Regions from separate parts of the Homo sapiens genome. Here regions 1 and 3 are each linked to region 2. Evidence: promoter capture Hi-C in 16 types of primary human blood cells and fetal thymus (Javierre and others, 2016). All regions are on one chromosome and are shown on one strand. The core of a region is centred on a gene start or on the middle of the fragment in contact, and the rest is flanking DNA. Distances in the headings are between cores, read along the strand shown.

What was found. The method cuts DNA at HindIII sites, captures the fragments that hold promoters and counts their contacts. A CHiCAGO score of 5 or more calls a contact.
Region 1: a contact is called between the fragment with the promoter of TCEAL1 here and the fragment with the promoter of BEX4 in region 2, in 6 of 17 cell types (erythroblasts, fetal thymus, M0 macrophages and 3 more). The highest score is 10.1, in erythroblasts.
Region 3: the fragment with the promoter of RAB40AL here is called in contact with the fragment with the promoter of BEX4 in region 2 in 2 of 17 cell types (M0 macrophages and monocytes); the score reaches 6.4 in M0 macrophages.

Annotation. Positions count from the first base shown.
Region 1 is chrX:103,627,501-103,630,453 of GRCh38, reverse strand. TCEAL1 (transcription elongation factor A like 1) reads right to left here and starts at 1,479. Exons shown (of 3, transcript NM_004780.3): 1 at 1,429-1,479; 2 at 881-960; 3 at 1-569. The coding sequence starts at 537. The coding sequence ends at 58. RefSeq lists enhancers at 525-594, 665-714, 619-913, 1,785-1,854. The HindIII fragment of the contact is 2,900 bases long and covers 1,155-2,953 here.
Region 2 is chrX:103,213,416-103,216,666 of GRCh38, reverse strand. It overlaps BEX4 (brain expressed X-linked 4), which reads right to left and starts at 1,559. Exons shown (of 3, transcript NM_001080425.4): 1 at 1,429-1,559; 2 at 903-985; 3 at 1-518. The coding sequence starts at 513. The coding sequence ends at 151. The HindIII fragment of the contact is 8,756 bases long and covers 1,200-3,251 here.
Region 3 is chrX:102,935,580-102,938,716 of GRCh38, reverse strand. RAB40AL (RAB40A like) reads right to left here and starts at 1,445. Exons shown (of 1, transcript NM_001031834.1): 1 at 417-1,445. The coding sequence starts at 1,398. The coding sequence ends at 562. The region is part of intron 10 of LINC00630 (long intergenic non-protein coding RNA 630); the gene reads right to left. The HindIII fragment of the contact is 15,007 bases long and covers 1-3,137 here.

The DNA.
Region 1 (2,953 bases), core at 230-2,729, 410 kb before region 2:
TCCAGGTGGCAATGGCAATACTATTAGCAGGCAAAACAGAATTAAAGGCCGAACACATTAAATAGGATAAGGACGGCTCCGTTTTGCCTTCCAGTGCATTATCATCAGTTTGTTTCTTACTCTTTTCATCTCTTCTAGCTCATCTGCTGCCTGTATCATCTCCTCATTGCTTAAATTTCTGCCATGTATGTCCCCTCTAAATTGCGGGCGAGAACGAGCCAACCTTTCTTTAAAGCTTCCTTCTTCAAGCTTATGTTTTCCTACTCCACAAGGAGGCTGCTCCATGGGAGGGCGCCCCTCAAACAGGTCCTTCCTGGAAAGACCCTCCTGCGGAGGGCGCTCCTCCGAGAGGAGCATCTCAGGCAGGAGCTCAGGCAAGAGCTCCTCAGGAAAGAACTCCTCCTCCGAGGACTGCTCCTCCGAAGACTGCTCCTCGGGGGACTGCTTTTCGGGAGAGTGCTCCACCGGAGGCCTCTCCTCATCGGTCTTGGGCGCGCTCTGCGGCTCTTCTTCATTTTCTTTGCGTGGTTTGTCCATGTTGGGAATTTTCTTCTTCAAGCACAGTTATTCTTAGGAGACAAGAAAGGCAGAATAGAGTCAGAATACTAAGCGGCTGGACTAACACCCAGGCCGTGGGTTCCAATACCTGCCTTTTCCTGATTCGGGGGCCAGGTCCTCAACCTTGCGCTTTCCCAGAGGCTCTCCGGCTCTCCCGACTCCGCCGCTTCCCGGTCGCCCCCTCCTTCCCGAAAGCCCACCATTTTCCCAGCAGGCTTTGCTACAGGCCTCGCCCGCAGTGACAGGGGCGGGACAGTGCGGCCTGCAGACTCCATGCCTTTCGGCGTCCACCCTCGCGCCCCAGTCCCGGCCCACTGCGTACCCCTTCCCTGACCTGGACCTTTCCGGGCCGTGTGCTCCTAGTCGTCCTCTCCTCGAGGTGCCCCGCTGTGACCAGCAGACCTGCACACAGACGCAAGACAGGGTAGGGGGCGGGGAGTGGGGAGGAGGGACGGACTGACTGACACCCCCCACCCCCCACTTTCTGGGCACCAGCCACTGCCTGCACGCTCCCCTAGCTCTCGGGTTCTCTTTTCGTCTCAGCCCCTGCGTCAAGCTTCGTCCTCCGTGCTCCCACCTCCCCACCCCGCAAAGCTTGCCATTTCTTTTCAGATGAGAAGTGGAAGCGAAGCATTTTTAGAAACTATTTCCAAATGTCTGTACCCCCCTCCCGGGGGACGGGGGAGGTACTCGCCTCCCCACCCCGCCCCAAAGACCACCATATTTTGCACAGAAATGTGGGCGCGGGGGGCGGGGCTGGAGCTTAGGGAAAGGCCTGGACTCCGCCATCCCGATTCTGTCAACCCCATTCCCCGGGTTACTAGGCAGCGCCGACACTCACACCGATTTAAGAGGGTAGAGGGAACTTACTTCTTCTGCTTTCCCTCTCGACCAAAGGGTAATAGGGAGATGGTGGACAGGCAAAAAAAAGACCGGGACGAGAGGGACTTGGGCACATAGAGGCTCCTGGTCACGTGAGGGACGCGCGTCACTGCCGAACTCAGATCCCCAGTTACCACTTTGATCTGCGGCCCTGCCGCAGCCACCTGCTAGTGCCTGCTAGTGTTCTCTGACCCGAGACACACCAGGCATTGTCACTCACCTCTCTTTGTATTTGCCTTTTCCTGGTTGCCAGAGACGGTCCGCATCTAGTCTCGGGTAGTATTGCCTCTTCCTCTGTGCTACTTCCCCTAGTACCACCTCTTTCTCCCCTCCTCCCTTCCTTAGCCACCAAGGCCCCTTATTTCCCCTGCAGTTCAGATCCTGCACTGACGTTTGACTGTTCACCTTCATAAATCAGTATTATATCCTTATATCCCAACACTCTCAGTTTTAATCCACATCCGTATCTCCATCATGTCCATTTAGGCTCATTCAGCATGTTTCATCTCTTGTCACTTTCATGGGAGACAATCTTTCACTTTTTCTTGACATCACATTTTGTTTTTTTGAGCCCCCAGATCTAAATTGGTAATCATTCAGTTCGAGACCTGTAGAAAGAGTTGAGTTTGTAAAGTTTGTAGATCTAAAAAGAATGAATACTTTGATTTTCATAAATCAAATACGTATTTGTCCATCTAAGTACAAACAGTCCAGAACACTTATTATCTGAAATGGGATAGTCCTTGGTGGAGAGCTTGGCATTATTCTCTCTATGTGTGTATATATATACACACATATATATGCGTGTATATATATACACGCATATATATGCATGTATACACACTGAATAGATTATAAAATATATTTATATACATGTGTACATATATATAAATTATTCAGTAGTTATTCATAATAGAATAAATAGATTTTACTGGGACTCTCAATCCTTAACCAGCCACCTCTTGGTGCTTCTGGTTGAGGAAGTTTATATTAATTCACTAAATCAACAAATATTTGAGTTCTGGGACTGCTGGACCCCAAAAGATAGATGCAGCAGGGAGGGCATTCCATATTAAACTATGCAATAATTCTGTTGACCACATACTGAATAGCAGGACTACAATTATGCTAGCATTTTCAATTGTCATTGCAATATGTATTTTTTTTTATCTAACAGTATTTTATGATCTTTAACCTTATGCCTGCCTCTCATCTACTCACATCAGCCTGGATGCTACTTTCTTATGCAGATGCTCTTTCCCCTACAGAGCATACTACTTCCCTTCCCTCTGTGTTTTACACTTTCAGGGTAGATGACCATCTGATCTGTGAGGATCCTGGGATTTTGTTTTAAAGCCAGGCTGTTTAGTAAGTTTCTGAACAGAAATTCATGTGAAATTTCCCCTTTTAAGAACTGTTTGTTGCTTTTCTCTGATATCTGATTAACTTTGTGTTGAGATAGCATTTAGACAAATATTAGTTTACCTTCATATCTTTTTTATAACTGTTTTAC
Region 2 (3,251 bases), core at 310-2,809:
GGCTGAGACAAAACAATATTCAATTAGAATTCTAATTTCCATTAGAAACTGGTAAGTGTAAACCCCAAAAGGCTTACAGAAAAAGTAAATCACAAAAATACAAGCTTGTAAAGCAGTGTTCACATTAACCTCAGCGAAAACTTTTAGGATTCAAGGTATGAGGCAAAAGTCATAATGGTTGTCAGGTTCAGGAGTTTGGAAGCGCATATAGTGCCTCATCTGCTGTTCCCTAGTCTTTCTCTTGATTTCCATCATCTGCCCTACAAACCTTTCTACATCATCTCTCGCTTCATTGTGCTCAATATGCCTATTAGGTATGGCCCATCGAAAATTAGGGACAAGTCGCCTAACTCGCCCCCGCCTGATATTTCCTCCAGGCTTCTGGCCTTCACCCCCTCCCAAATGGCGGGATTCTTCTTCATTCTGCGTGGGGGCCTGCTCCCCTCCTTCGTTTTCTTGTTGGGCATTTTCCCCGTTGAGATTGTTTGCCGCTAGTTCCTCTTTGGACTCCATTACTCCTAGGAGACAAGAGAGAGAAAATGGGCTGAATTCTTGGTGGACTGATAAGCACTGAGGACAGAGGCCCTACTAGGCACCTTTTAAAATTCAGAGCCCTGGACTTGACTTTATACTCTAACATTTCATTTTTTTCCACCTGAGAAGCCAGTATGCCCTGTGGGGTGCCCTCAATCCGAGCCCCTCCCTTCCGCAAAGCCCACCATTTTCCCTGTAGATCCATCTCCAGGCTTCCGCAGGCAGCAAAATGGAGGACGAGGATGGCGTGTGGGAAGGGGAGGGTTGCATGGGGTAGAGGGGGGCGAGGGTGAAGGCATGGATTAGGGTCTCAGACTGGGCTTTCCTCACGTTCCGGCCCCCGCCTCACCACCGACCCTCGCACCGACCTGGGCCTATCCTTGCAGTCTCCTCCTCCGGATTCTTGACGCGAGGTGCGCCGCCGCGACACTTAGCCCCGCAGACCTGCAGACTGCCGGGGTGGGGGAAGTGGGGGCTGCTGCAGCAGAACGCTAGCTAGGAACTACCGCCATCCGGCCCCTCCCCCGCCCCGCCCCGAGGCCCTGGCCCTGGCCCTGGCCCTGGCCCTCCTCGCCACCCTCGCCCCCCGCCTCAGCCGCCCCGCCCCGCAAGCTGACCACCATTTTCTGCACCAAGAAGTGCGGGGCAGGGGTGTCGGAAAAGCTTGCGCTGATGGCGTAGGCAGGTGTTTCCGAAGGGTCGTAGCCCCAGGACCGCCGGCTCCCTCCGGGCCGGGCACCTCTCCGCTCAAGGAAGGCTCGCGGGCCCGCCGCGGGGCCCGGGGGCTGCATCGCGGACCGATTGCTTCTCCGCACGGCTCCCCCGGGGTGGGCATCCGCAGGCCGGAGCCACTCCCTCACACCAACCCCAGGGACCCCCCGCCGGGTTCCTTACCTGCTCCCCCTCCGCTTCCTAATTTCGGGGCCGCCCCTGGCCCACACGTCCTCAGGGCCACCGGGAGCAGGTACCACCGCCGAGAATGGAACGAGCCACGACGGCTCTGACGCCAGAGCGAGACAACACTCAGTGTTGGCCGGTCACGTGGGGCTGTTGTCATCGCCAACGGCTCCGCCCCCGTCCCACGCCCCCTCCTGCAGCCCGGAGTCAGGCGGGGCTTTCGGGTCAGCCCCTATCCTCATCCGGAGTCTCTTTTAGTATCTCCAGACTGGCCGGCCCTTCCACTCTCCTGTCTTTGTGTATTCTTGGGACTTCCTCTGCCTCCCCAAGAGGGAAGCTGTCTTCTCAGGGAGCTGTTGGCCATTCCCACTTCTGTGGGGACTTGCCTCTCCCTGTCCTGGGCTCCCAGGATTTTCCCCACATCTCCCAACCAGGACGCGGGCGCAGAATTTAAAGGGGTGCAAAATTCCTCAGCAGTCAAGAAAAATAACATTTTAATGCAACATTTTAAAAAACAATTATTGCAAGAAAATTTATGATGAGCAAGATGTCAAAAATTTAAATAAAGAGAGCATCAGTCCCGCCCACCCCAATGGCAAACTGTGGTACTTGTTACCAATGCTCATCCTTTTCTCCACACCAGAACGTTTGGGGGGGGACAGGAAATGAGTCAAGGACAGTGGATTTTTTTTCTAATTCTTCTTAATACCTTTCTGTTCTGTTCCTTTTTTTGGGGGGTGGGGCAGAGTCTCGCTCTGTCGCCCAGGCTGGAGTGCAGTGGCGCGATCTCGGCTCACTGCAAGCTCCGCCTCCCGGGCTCACGCCATTCTCCTGCCTCAGCCTCCCGAGTAGCTGGGACTACAGGCGCCCGCCACCACGCCCGGCTAATTTTTTGTATTTTTAGTAGAGACGGGGTTTCACCGTGTTAGCCAGGATGGTCTGGATTTCCTGACCTCGTGATCCGCCCGCCTCGGCCTCCCAAAGTGCTGGGATTACAGGCGTGAGCGCCCGGCCCCTTTTTTGTTTAAGAAACAGTCTTTATAGTTTAACTTTATCTTAACTTTAATGGAAAATTTCGAACATTTGGAAAAATGGAATAGTATAATGCAAACCCCATGTACTAGTCCTCACTCAGATTCCACAGTTAACAACTCATGGCCAATCTTATTTCGTCTTTATCTTACCCGCTTCCCAACCTTAAAATTATTTCTGAAGCAAATTCTAGACATAATATCACTTTAGGCATAAATATTTCAAAGTATGTATCTACAAGATAAGGGTTTTCTTCTTTTTAGCATATAACCACAATACTGTTGTCACATTTAATAATTCACAATTCCTTAATATCATTTTATGTCTAATCTGTGTTCAAATACCCAATTGTATTATAGTTTTTTTTAACAGTTTGTTTGAATCAAGATACAAATAAGATATGCGCATTTTGATTGGTTGCCAAATTTCCTAAATTTCTTTTAATCTGTGGGTTTTCATTTTTTAATTTTTTCTTTAATTATTGATGAAATAGTCATTTGTTCTGTATTTTCCTACAGTCTGGATCTCAGTGGTGTCATTAACACATTATCTCTTTACTCTGTGGTTCCTATAAGATGGTAACTAATTCTAGAAAAGCATCCTGGAATTTGGGTTCAATTTCAATTCAAGTTTGTCCAAGGGAAAGCAAAGACTCTTTCTGTTTTCCTCTTTTTGGGATTTTAGCTGAAATATTTCTATAAAGAGACCCTTCCTATTTTAGGTCGGGCTCCCTAGAAGCAGAACTTGGAACAGAGATCCTTATGAATGTAGTTTCTTGTAATGCTCTC
Region 3 (3,137 bases), core at 196-2,695, 280 kb after region 2:
AAATGTAGTAAAATAACATAGCAAAAACTTTATCAAATCCATTTCGTGCACAAACTGGACAGATCTGTTACGTATAATCTCTATATGCATCTGCAGTGTTTTATAAATTGGTGCTTTGACATCAAAAAGGAGGTTTACAAAAAGTCCCCTCTAGTAATATCAATGACTCGGAATGATCTCACTATCATTGCATCTCAAATTCCCTTGAATTTATACTCATCACTGTCATATCACCATTCTTACAAAAGCGGTTATTTTAAGGAAAAAGATGCAGTGTGATTATGATATAAGTAACATTCAAAATTTCATGTTATCAAGAGTTAAGCAGAGTACTAATTTCCCCTTTATAAACACATGCACATCCACGTAGAAATTCAAAGTCAAACTGCGTAAAGTGCTTTTATTGACAGAAGGCATCACACACATTCCCAAGCAGCATTGTTCCCATGAGAAACTGAAAACGTATTTCTTTGAATCTAGAATGCATCTTCCCTCTTCCAGGTGTAACCATTCAGAGTTTTTCCTGGAGCGATTCCAGCTTGTTTCCTTTTGGTGCCTTCCTTAAGAAATTTTGCAGCTGTTTCTGGTGCAGTTTTTGGGTGGGCTCTGGGGTGGGCAGACGATCTTCACTTTGCAGAGGCTGCTCCTTTTGTGAGTGGAGCTGGTGGTGAGGGAGTAGGAGAGGCCTCGCATCATCCTGGCATTCAGGCCCTTAGCCATGGAGAAGGACTTGAGGTGGCTTCTTAAGGCAATGGGGAGCGGGAGCTTGTCCACCAGATGCACAGGTGTGCAGGACACGATGGTGCGGCAGCAGAGGTCTTGCAAGCTCAGTACCTTGCTCGGCCTCCCGAGCCAGTTCAACCTGTGCCGCAGCAGCACTATCCTGGCCAGCTCCGTGAAAGACTCTATGATGTTGAAATTGCACAGAGGGCTGACCTCAAAGAAGGTCACGCCCAGGCGCTCGGCGTAGGCCTGGGCCTGCTCCCTGGGCACCTGCCTCTTGAATGCCAGATGTAGGCGATTCCCCACCAGGATTTTAGGGACACCAGGGGCATGTTCCTCAATCTTCTTAATCCATCGATCCATACCCTCGAAAGACCAGCGGTTTGCAATGTCGTAGACCAGGATCACTCCTTGTGCACCACGAGAGTAGGAGCGGAATATGGTACAAAATCTTCCCTGCCCCGACGTATCCCAGAGCTTCAGCTTCACCCGCTGGCCGTCCAGCAGGATGGTGGTCGTCTTGTAGTCGATTCCCCCCAGGTGACTGTACGGGGACTCGGCCGTGCCGTCCTGCAGGCTCTCCAGGATCTCACTCTTGCCTACGTCCCTGTCGCCCACCAGCAGGAACTTGAGCAGGAAGTCGTAGGCCTGGTCGGGGCTGCCCGGGGCGCTCATCGTGCTGGCCCCGCCCCCCGCCTGGGCCAGACCAGCAAGGTTGTGCGCAGAGGCGGTGCCGGGCCTATTTTTCTTGAGAAATTAGCATAGAACATAAAAAATGGGATGGGGAAGTCTACGAAATAAAGTGAAATGAGGTGGTGGCTTTGATGGTTTTCTTTTACAAACCCTGGGAAACCGGTTCAGCGATTGTTTTCCTTTTTCTTACCCAGCACAGAGTAGTGACACAGCAGTTAATTCATCATGGAAACCTATACATTTCCCTTAAAACTTTCATGTGATCGTTATGGAACCATGCCTTTTGGATTATGTCAAAGGAATCTCCTTTAAAGGAAGGACGGGTATGAGATAGGAAGCAGACTAAGATGTGTTGAGTACCGTATGTACCCTACGCTGTGTATGACGCTTAAAATAATTTGTTCTTTTACTTCTCAGAACAATTGTCTTTGGTAGCTATGATTGTTTTCATTTTACAAATGAGAAAAGGCAAACTCAGAAATGTTACGTAATTTTTAAAAATCTTGCCGTTAGTATAGAGATCACAGAAATCACAATCCTGAGCCAGTGCTCTCCTTATATAATGCCCCACACATCCTTTCTACTCTGTGGCCATGCCGGGTTTAGGAGTAAGTGTGAACTGTCTGTGCATGTGATCCTTGACAAGCCACGCATGTTTGCATGGGCACTAACACATTTTTTGCTGCAGGGGGACATCTCCCATAAATATAAGAGCCAAGATCTCAGAAGAAACATCTAGGATATGGATTTTTCTAGAGTGTCTCATAAATAATATTCAGCCAAGAAAGATGTGTTGAAATAACGCATGCATAGATCAATGAAGGGTTTTAGATTTAACACACGTACAGATCCTATAACAAAACAGCAAAACTGACAAAATATATAAATGGTTCATGGATGATGAAATGCAAATGGCCAATAATCATAAGAAAATGCATTCTAGCTCACTAATATATAAGGAATGCAAATGCAACTATCTAAATATACTTTTATCACCTATCGTTTGACAAAATTTCAATGTAGAAAAAACTGAATAAGAATTTTTTTTTAATTTGCAAAAGAAAAAGGTAAAAGTGGCTCTGTGTGTGTCTGTGTATGGGGGCAGGATGAGGGACCAAATACATCAAGGAAATGGAAACACACTTCTCAGTTATAAATGCATTTAAATATTGTAACTACAACAGGTATAAAGATGGTTAAAGGAATGAGAATGCTCAGACACATATAAGGGAGTTTAAATTATTGAAATCAAGCCCCAAGGGATAGATGTGTAAGCATGTAATGGATGAAACATTTTTCACATGTACAAAATAGCCAGGTAAGAGGTTATTTGCTACAGTATTGCTGAAATCTTTTTAAAAAGGAAAAAATGAGAAGCATTCTAAATACTCATCAATACAGAACAAACAATAACAAAGTTGTCTCCCTAATTTACACAAACTCCCCTAAAGACATCGCCATGATCTGAATGGTGGAATCTGACCATTTCTTAAGCCTTGGAAGTGCATCTTCTAAAAGGGAGGTGCTCTCAGGGTCCTCTAGGGAGGGTGAGGGATAGAACCTCATTCCAATCCTGCCACTTACCTCAAGAGGCGACTTAGGTTCTGTGAGCCTGAGCTTGGTCATCTGTGAAATGGGACTGACTATACCATCCTCACGGAGTTATTCCCAGGCATAAATGGGAAAACCTGTCCAGGGTATATGGCATGGAATGGGAGGCT